2 separate regions of the Homo sapiens genome follow, and region 2 is linked to region 1. Evidence: promoter capture Hi-C in 16 types of primary human blood cells and fetal thymus (Javierre and others, 2016). All regions are on one chromosome and are shown on one strand. Each heading gives the region's core, a stretch centred on a gene start or on the middle of the fragment in contact. The rest is flanking DNA. Distances are from core to core; before and after follow the strand shown. Region 1 holds the start of SEPTIN12 (septin 12). Region 2 has its middle 4.0 kb from the start of SEC14L5.

Region 1 (4,728 bases), core at 925-3,424:
CGCACCTGGCTGACCCCTAGCCTCTAAGCCTTTAAGGTTAAGCCTCCAGGAAGGAGCGGGAGTTCCCCAGAAGGAAGAACTGGCAGAAGGTAGTGGACAGCAAAGGGCAGAAGTCGGCCTGGGGCTCAGGAAAGCTGGAACCACGGCCACCTTTCTTCTGTGAATACGGTTTTACTTAGACACAGCCACGCCCATCTGTTTACCTATTGTCTGTGGCGACTTTCTCACTGCAATGAAAAGTTGCATAGTAGTTGCAACAGAGAACTTAGGACCAGCAAAGCCTAAAATAGGGACCATCTGGCCCTTTACAGAAAACACTTGCCAGCCTGAGTGTGGTGGCGCTTTGGGAGGCTGAGGCAGCTGGACCCCTTGACCCCAGGAGTTCAAGACAATCTTGGGCAACATAGGGAGACCTCATCTCTACAAAAAGTAAAAAAATTAGCCCAGCATGGTCTACGTACCTGAAGTCCCAGCTACTAGGGAGGCTGGGGCAGGAGGATCACTTGAACCCAGGAAGTCGAGGCTGCAGTGAGCTGTCATTGTGCCTCTGCACTCCAACTTGGGTGACAAAGTGAGACCCTGTCCCAAAAAAGAAAAAAAAAAAAGAAAGAAAAGAAAGGAGAAAAGAAAGAAAAAAGAAAGAGAAAACATTTGCCAATAGCAAGGACACAGGAATGCCTAAGCCTTGTGAAGTCAAGTACCAGGAAACAAGAAAGAATTAACTGTGTGAGATGGACTTGGTATAAGAAACAGCTTATCAGGCTGGGCATGGTGGTTCACGTCTGTAATCTCAGCATTTAGGGAGGCTGAGGTGAGAGGATCACTAGAACCCAGGAGTTTGAGACCAGCATGGGCAACATAGTGAGACCGTGTCTCAAAAAAATTTTAAAAAGGGCTGGGCGCAGGGGCTAACGCCTGTAATCCCAGCACTTTGGGAGGCCGAGGAGGGCAGATCACGAGATCAGGAGATCGAGACCATCCTGGCTAACACAGGGAAAACCAGTCTCTACTAAAAATAGGAAAAAATTAGCCGGGCGTGGTGGCAGGCGCCTGTAGTCCCAGCTACTCGGGAGGCTGAGGCAGGAGAGCGGCGTGAACCCGGGAGGCAGAGCTTACAGTGAGCCGAGATCATGCCACTAAACTCCAGCCTGGGTGACAGAGCGAGACTCCGTCTCAAAAAAAAAAAGAAAAAAAGGAAAAAAGAAAAAAAAAGGCCAGGCATGGTGGCTCACTAATCCCAACACTTTGGGAGACCAGGGTTGGTGGATCACTTGAGGTCAGAAGCTTGTGACTAGCCTGACCAATGTGGTGAAACCCCTTCTCTACTAAAAATACAAAATTAGCGTGGTGGTGCACACCGGTAATCCAGCTACTTGGGAGGCTGAGGCAAGAGAATTGCTTGAACCCAGGAGGCGGAGGTTGCAGTGAGCCGAGATCGCGCCACTGCATTCCAGCAAGGGCAACAGAGCGAGGCTGTCTCAAAAACAAACAACAAAAAAAGAAACAGCTTATCAGAGAGACAGTAAGGCAGGGGTGAGGACCACAGTCTGGAAAGCACATGGCCTATTTAAAGAGGGCATCTCAAGTCAGGGTGATAACCTCTAAGATACACCGGAAATCTAGATGTTTCTGTAAACCAGAAAAAGGCAGTAGAGGGTGAGCACACAGACTCAGAGCGGCAGAGACTCTGCCACCTCCTCACCTGACCCTCTCTTATCTATCAGCTTGGGGTAGTAACAGCACTTACTTCACAGGGCTTGATTATTAAACAAGTTAACATCTTTGGGCTCCTAGAACGATGCCATGTGCAGAGTCAGGACTGGGTAAATATTTGCTAAAGCAATCTCTTCATGTTTTTGACGCTGCAACTTAAAACACATGGCGCCAATCGTGGACACGGATATCCCGCTAGCCAGCTGTGGGGCCTGGGTTTGCTCACCCCAGCAGAGTGGTTGAGGGCGTCAGCTTGGAGGTGGGAGCCCAGCTGACGAGGGGGCCTTGGGCCCCTGGTTCTACTTGGGGATTATTGTATTATTAGGCTGGGGTCATTGTGGGGATTAGAAGGGTAACAGCTCCTGCTCCTGCTGCAGAGAAGCCTCCAGGTGGGGGTCACAGCAAGTGCAGATGGAGCTCAGATTCTTCGGTTAACTGTCACCCTCTCCCCTCCCCCATCACACACACCAGGCCCTGCCAGGACAAGGCAGCTCCTGGAAGCTCCACCAGGACCCACGTCCACCAGGTGTCACAGCAGGCTGCTTCTCTCTCTCTCTGCCCCCCGTGGGCTCTTCGCACCGCTCCCTCCCAGCCATCTTCCCTGCCTGACCTTGGTCTCTCTCTCTCTGTCTCCGTCACCTTCATGCCTGTGCCGTCTTTCTCGCTCTCTATCAACTCTGCTGTGTGTCCCCCTGGGGAAAGTGGGGGCACCTCCTCCTGAGCCCCCTGCCCAAGTTTCCTGCTGGGACGGGAGCCACTTCACCCCATACACACTCCCTGAAGCCCCTCCAGGACTCCAGCCTGGCTGCAAACACCCATCCTGGACTTTGCCTGGCCCTCCAGGCTCTGCTGGGGGAAGCGACCTGAGAGGCCCCTGCCTGGGCTGTAGGTGGGGACAGGGCAGACCCTTGGGCAGCGGAGCCTCTCTGGATGGGTGTTGAGGCACCCTGCAGAAACAGCTCCCCACAGGCACCCTTGCCACACCCCTGGGACTACAGGCACTTAGGGTACACCAGAGGCATGAAGTGTGGAGGGGGTTGGCCAACGGCCAAGCTCAAATAGGGGTTCAGATAGGAGAGGTCAATGTGGGCTCCTCTGAGCCCCAGTGACCCCCTTCTCCCCACCCACCTGGTGACAGGCATCTCGAACCCTTGGCCCCCATGGACCCCCTGAGGCGCTCCCCCTCTCCCTGCCTGTCCTCGCAGCCCTCCAGCCCCAGCACCCCACCCTGCGAGATGCTTGGTCCTGTGGGCATTGAGGCTGTGCTGGACCAGCTGAAGATCAAGGCTATGAAGATGGGGTTTGAGTTCAACATCATGGTGGTGGGTGAGTGAGAGGTAGGGCCCACGGCAGGACAGACCCACAGTGCTACGCGTGCCTGGGCGTGTGGCCTCACCTTTGGCAGCCTGTCGCCCCTCCCCATCTCTTAGGTGGGCCTGATAATAGCACCTCACAGGGATGTTGTCATTGAAAATTTGAGAAATGCTGAGTCATTAAAAGACAAAAATGTGCCTGGAGCGGTGGCTCACACCTATAATCCAGGGTTTTGGGAGACTGAGGTGGGTGGATCACTTGAGCTCAGGAGTTTGAGACTAGCAAAACCTAATGTCTACAAAAAGTACAAAAATGAGGCCGGGCATGGTGGCTCAAGCCTGTAATTCCAGCACTTTGAAAGGCCAAGGCAGGAGGGTCACTTGAGGTCAGGAGTTCGAAAACAGCCTGGCCAACATGGGGAAACTCCGTCTCTACTAAAAATACAAAAATTTGCCAGGCGTGGTGGTGGGCGCCTGTACTTAGGAGCTACTTAGGAGGCTAAGGCAGGAGAATTGCTTGAACCTGGGAGGCAGATGTTGTAGTGAGCCGAGATTGCGCCACTGTACTCCAGCCTGGGTGACAGAGCAAGACTGAAGCAGAAGGATCCCTGGAGGCCAGGAGTTCATGACCAGCCTAGGCAACACAGCAAGACCCCATCTCTACAAAAAAAATTTAAAAATTAGCCAGGCATGGTGACATGCACCTGAATCCCAGCTACTTGGGGGGCTGAGGTGGGAGGATCGTTTGAACCTGAGGGTGGAGGTTGCAGTGAGCTGCGATCACTTGAGTCTGGGTGACAGATTGAGACCCTGTCTTAAAAATTAAAAAACAGTGCAAGGCCGGGTGTGGTGGCTCACGCCTGTAATCCCAGCACTTTGGGAGGCTGAGGCAGGCGGATCATGAGGTCAGGAAATCAAGACCATCCTGGCTAACATGGTGAAACCCCGTCTCTACTAAAAATACAAAAAAATTAGCCAGGCGTGGTGGCGGGCGCCTGTAGTCCCAGCTACTTGGGAGGCTGAGACAGGGGAATGGCGTGAATCTGGGAGGCGGAGCTTGCAGTGAACCGAGATCCCACCATCGCGCTCCAGCCTGGGTGACAGAGCGAGACTGCGTCTCAAAAAAAAAAAAAAAAAAAGCAGTGCAAAAATCAGCTGGGTATGGTGGCGTGTGCCTACAGTCCCAGCTACTAGGGAGGCCGAGGTGCGAGAATCACTAGAGTCTGGGAAGGTCGAGGCTGCAGTGAACGGGGATTGCATCATTGCACTCCAGCCTGGGTGACAGAGTGAGAACCTGTCTCCAAAAATAAAATAGAAAAGTAAAGAGTTAGAGAAAAACTGCCTAAAACGCCCACCCTAACTGCTGTCATCCGGTTGCCACTCCCAGGGCAAAGCGGGCTGGGCAAGTCCACGATGGTGAACACGCTGTTCAAGTCCAAAGTGTGGAAGTCAAACCCACCGGGCTTGGGGGTGCCCACACCCCAGACGCTGCAGCTGCATTCACTGACCCATGGTGAGTGAGCCCCTGCCCACACCTCACCCCACCCTGCCCCACCCCATCCCACCTGGGTCCAGTCTCTCCCGACTCTGCTCTCCCTCCACAGTCATAGAGGAGAAGGGTGTGAAGCTGAAGCTGACGGTGACGGACACGCCCGGCTTCGGGGACCAGATCAACAATGACAACTGGTAGGTTCTCTCTCTT
Region 2 (4,728 bases), core at 1,129-3,628, 170 kb before region 1:
CACCTACTACGTGCCACCGTGGGGTGAATTCACCCCTTCAAGCAGGGGAAGTCAGAGGTGGCCAGGGAGATGGACAACCCCTGATATATTTCAAGTATGTCACTGCACCCTGTGAAAATCACCTCTCTTCCCTTCCTAGCCTGCATCACATTCTAATATTGCATTTATTCGTTTTATATATCTGTGGGTTCCTGGAGGTCTCTCTCAGGAGACTGTGAGCTCCCTGAGGGCAGGGGCAGTGGCTGCCTTATTCAGCTGCCCGCATGTTGGGAAGGATCTTACTGGGGACCTGGCAGGCAGGCAGCAGGTGCCCAGCAGACTCTTGGCTTAGGTAATCAAGGGCGGAAATGGGACACAAAGTTCCCATCCCTGTCGCAAGGTGGCAGCAAATGATAGCCCATGGCTCCTGGAGTAACACAAGGGTGAGTAGGTGGGGGACATGGGATCCAGGGATGACTGTCCTAACCCGGGCTCATCCAGGAAATGCCCAGCTCTGCCCAGGCATCGCCACAGAGCAAAGTGAACGTTAACACCGTTAGCTGCTGTTACCACCACGAAAGGCGTTAAGTCCGCCTCTCCTGCTGCCCAACATTGAGGGAGGACAATGACTGCGTGGGAGACAGAGGTGTGACAGCCCTGCGGGTACAGAGAGCTCAAAGTGGAAACTGGGGCCTGGAGGGGAGTGAGAACCCCACTCCCTCCTCCTCCAGCCCCAGGGAAGGGAATTAATAACGCCACCAACACTCACTCCAGCTTTTTTTGGGTTTTGGGGTTTTTTTTTTACGTGGAGTCTTGCTCTGTTGCCCAGGCTGGAGTGCAGTGGCGCAGTCTCGGCTCACTACAACCTCCGCCTCCCAGGTTCAAGCAATTCTCCTGCCTCAGCCTCCCGAGTAGCTGGGATTACAGGCGCTTGCCACCACACCTGGCTAATTTTTGTATTTTCAGTAGAGACAGGTTTCATCATGTTGGCCAGGCTGGCCTCAAACTCCTGACCTCAGGTGATCCACCCGCCTCAGCCACCCAAAGTGCTGGGATTACAGACATGAGCCACCACACCTGGCCCAGTTGCCTATTATTACTGTTCTACTAATTATTCCTACCACTTGTTGACACTCCATTGGCGCTTACTATACCTAGCACCATTCTAAAGCTTTACAAACACGAATGCATTTAATCCTCAAAGCAACCCCAGAGCAATGAAAATGTCTTGGAATGTGATAGAGGTGGTGGTTGCACAACGTTGCAAATGCACATGCCACTGAATTGGGGCCACAATATTAAAATGATTAATTTTCTGTTACGTGGCTTTCATCTCAATTAAAAGCCCATATACAGTCAAAACTATTTTAATCCTCATCTTACACGTAGGGAAACTAAGGCACAAGGCACAGAGAGACTGAATAACTTGCCCAAGGCCACACAGCTAGTAAGGAACTCATACCCAGGACTCTCGTTCTCCAATGACTTCTTCTCCTAGAGCTGCAGCTGATGCTCCGGGAAGATGTGATTTCCAAGCCCTGAACTGCAAGATCTCCAGGCACCCTGGCTCCAGGACAAGAAGGCGCTGCAAGGATAGGCTGATTCCCCAGGGGTGCTGGGCATGAACTCAGTCCCAGGGCAGGATCTTTAGCCTCTATCTGCTGCTTCCCACCTGCCCTGCAAGAATGACCCAGCCAATGCTGCCTTTTGTGGAGGTGGGTTTTGGGAACCCCAGAAACCACCTCATGTCTCTGAATGTCTTCCCAGCAGATGGGCCACTGCCAGAGAAGATTCAACCATTAGTGATGCATTTGTTTGAGTAAAACTCTGGACCCCATCCAAAGGCAGATGTTCCTGGAAGGCATCCTGCTGGGAATGTCCTGAGTTGAATGGCTCAGTGTGACATTGAGAATGGGGGTTAAGACCCTGGAATACATAATGGGCCCTGGGATGGCTCTGAAGCTGAAGAAGATGCAGTAAGCAGGGTACGGTCCCCAGCTTAATTTTATTGTGGCAAAATGGTCCGAGCACAGTGGCTCATGCCGGTAATCCCAACAGTTTGGGAGGCCGAGGTGGGCGGATCACCTGAGGTCAGGAGTTCGAGACCAGCCTGGACAACATGGCAAAAACCTGTCTCTACTAAAAATGAAAAAATTAGCCAGGCATGGTAGCGCATGCCTGTAATCCCAGCTACTCAGGAGGCTGAGGTAGGAGAATCACTTGAACCTGGGAGGTGGAGGGTGCAGTGAGCTGAGATCACACAACTGCACTCCAGCCTGGGCAACAGAGTGAGACTCCATCTCAAAAAAAAAAAAAAAAAAGAAAAAAATCAGCTGGGCACGATGGCTCATGCCTGTAATCCCAGCACTTTGGGAGACCGAGGTGGGCAGATCACCTGAGGTTGGGAGTTCGAGGCCAGCCTGATCAACATGAACAAACCTCGTCTCTACTAAAAATACAAAATTAGCTGGGTGTGGTGATGCATGCCTGAAATCCCAGCTACTGGGGAGGCTGAGGCAGGAGGATCGCTTGAACCCGGGAGGCAGAGGTTGCGGTGAGTCAAGATCATGCCATTGCACTCCAGCCTGGGCAACAAGAGAGAAACTCCATCTCAAAAAAAAAAAAAGCACATAACACAAAAGTTACCATTTTAACCATTTCTTAGTGTGCTGCATGCCTGTAATCCCAGCTACTCAGGAGGCTGAGGCAGGAGAATTGCTTGAACCCAGCAGGTGGAGGTTGCAGTGAGCCAAGATCATGTCATTGCACTCCAGCCTGGGTGACAGAGCGAGACTCTATCTCAAAAAAAAAAAATGCACATAACACAAAAGTTACCATTTTAACCATTTCTTAGTGTACAATTCTCTGGCTTTTGGTATATTCACAAGATGCACGTACAGCCAGCACCACTTTCTAGTTTTGGAACATTTTCATCACCCCAAAAGGAAACTCATACCCATGAAGCTGTCACTCCTCCTTCCTCCCTTCCCGCAGCCCCTGGAAACCATCCATCTGTTTATCTGCTTCCTGGGGGACATCTCATTCGTCCCGGGTGGCCTCTACGTTGTGTTGCTTCTTGCCCCTTCTCGAAGCAGAGCCCTGAGGCCTCCTGGATTTGGGAATCTCCAGGGCTATCATGATGGTTGGCAGGGCTGTTACGTACAGGTGTATAGGTTGTAACCTGCACAACTCTGTGGAACAGTCCTGGTCATGGGAGCAGCTTTGACTGAGCAGAGGCTGAGTCTGAGGCAGTCTGACCCAGGGGGCTACACAGCCAGGACCCACCCACCTTGACCCCCAGCCGGGCACCCAAGTCCATTCACTTCACAAAGACTTCTGGGCTCCACCAACTGCTACATGAAGCCCAAAGGAGAGAATGGAACACAGCGGGAGGAGGGTGGCCCAGGGGATGGGAGGGGTGGCCCTGTGGGAGGGGTCAGGTGGCCGGGCACTTGGGGCGGGTACAGGAGTCAGACCAACCTTGATGTGCGTTCTGACCCTGCCACCCCCTAGCTTTGTTGCCTCAATGTCCCCTCTTTTTTTTTTTTTTTTTTTTTTGAGACAGAGTCTCACTCTATCGCCCAGGCTGGAGTGCAATGGCGTGATCTCGGCTCATTGCAAGCTTCGCCTCCCAGGTTCATGCCATTCTCCTCCCTCAGCCTCCCGAGTAGCTGGGACTACAGGCGCCCACCACCACGCCCGGCTAATTTTTTTGTATTTTTAGTAGAGACGGGGTTTCACCGTGTTAGCCACCATGGTCTCGATCTCCCGACCTTGTCATCCACCCGCCTCGGCCTCCCAAAGTGCTGGGATTACAAGCATGAGCCACTGCGCCCAGCCAATGTCCCCTCCTTTTAACATGGGGTAACATGGGCTGTGCACAGTGGCTCACGGCTGTAATCCCAGCACTTTGGGAGGCTGAGGTGGGTGGATCACCTGAGGTCGGGAGTTTGAGACCAGCCTGGCCAACATGGCAAAACCCATCTCTGCTAAAAATACAAAAATTGGCTGGCGTGGTGGCGCACCCCTGTAATCCCAGCTACTCGGGAGGCTGAGGCAGGAGAATTGCTTGAACCCGGATTGTGGAGGTTGCAGTGAGCTGAGATCATGCCACTATACTCCAGCCTGGGCAATAGAGTGAGACTCCATCTCAAAAAAAAAAAAAAATAGGGGTAACATGAAAAATTATTCAGCATTAGAGAGGAATAAAGCACCCACACGCACTACGACTTGGATGAACCTGGAGGACATTATGCTGAACGGGCAAGAACTGAGTGATTCCACATCTGAGTCACCTAGAGGAGCCCAATCCACAGGGACAGAAAGAAGAACGGTGGCGGGGCTAGGGGCTGGGGGGAGGGGCATGGGGAGTTAATTAATGGACACAGAGTTTGGGTTTTAGAAGATGAAAAGAGTTCTGGGCCGGGCACAGTGGCTCGCGCCTGTAATCCCAGCACTTTGGGAGCCCGAGGCGGGCGGATCACGAGGTCAGGAGTTTGAGACCAGGCTGGCCAACATAGTGAAACCCCATTTCTACTAAAAATACAAAAATTAGCCGGCCATGGTGGCACGCACCTGTAATCCCAGATACTCGGGAGGCTGAGGCAGGAGAATCGCTTGAACCCAGGAGGCGGAGGTTATGGTGAGCCAAGATTGCACCACTGCACTCCAGCCTGGGCAACAGAGCGAGACTCTCAAAAAAAAAAAAAAAAAAAAAGGAGTTTTGGAGATGGATGGTGTGATGGTTAC

The links. The method cuts DNA at HindIII sites, captures the fragments that hold promoters and counts their contacts. A CHiCAGO score of 5 or more calls a contact.
Region 2: a contact is called between a fragment that was not itself captured here and the fragment with the promoter of SEPTIN12 in region 1, in 1 of 17 cell types (endothelial precursors). The highest score is 6.0, in endothelial precursors.

Annotation. Positions count from the first base shown.
Region 1 is chr16:4,785,791-4,790,518 of GRCh38, reverse strand. SEPTIN12 (septin 12) reads left to right here and starts at 2,174. Exons shown (of 10, transcript NM_144605.5): 1 at 2,174-2,239; 2 at 2,852-3,039; 3 at 4,414-4,539; 4 at 4,631-4,712. The coding sequence starts at 2,874. It also overlaps a transcript of SMIM22 not described here. The HindIII fragment of the contact is 19,587 bases long and covers 1,287-4,728 here.
Region 2 is chr16:4,951,990-4,956,717 of GRCh38, reverse strand. No RefSeq gene overlaps it. Among named protein-coding and RNA genes, the nearest start is that of SEC14L5, 4.0 kb to the left of the region's middle. The HindIII fragment of the contact is 2,451 bases long and covers 1,153-3,603 here.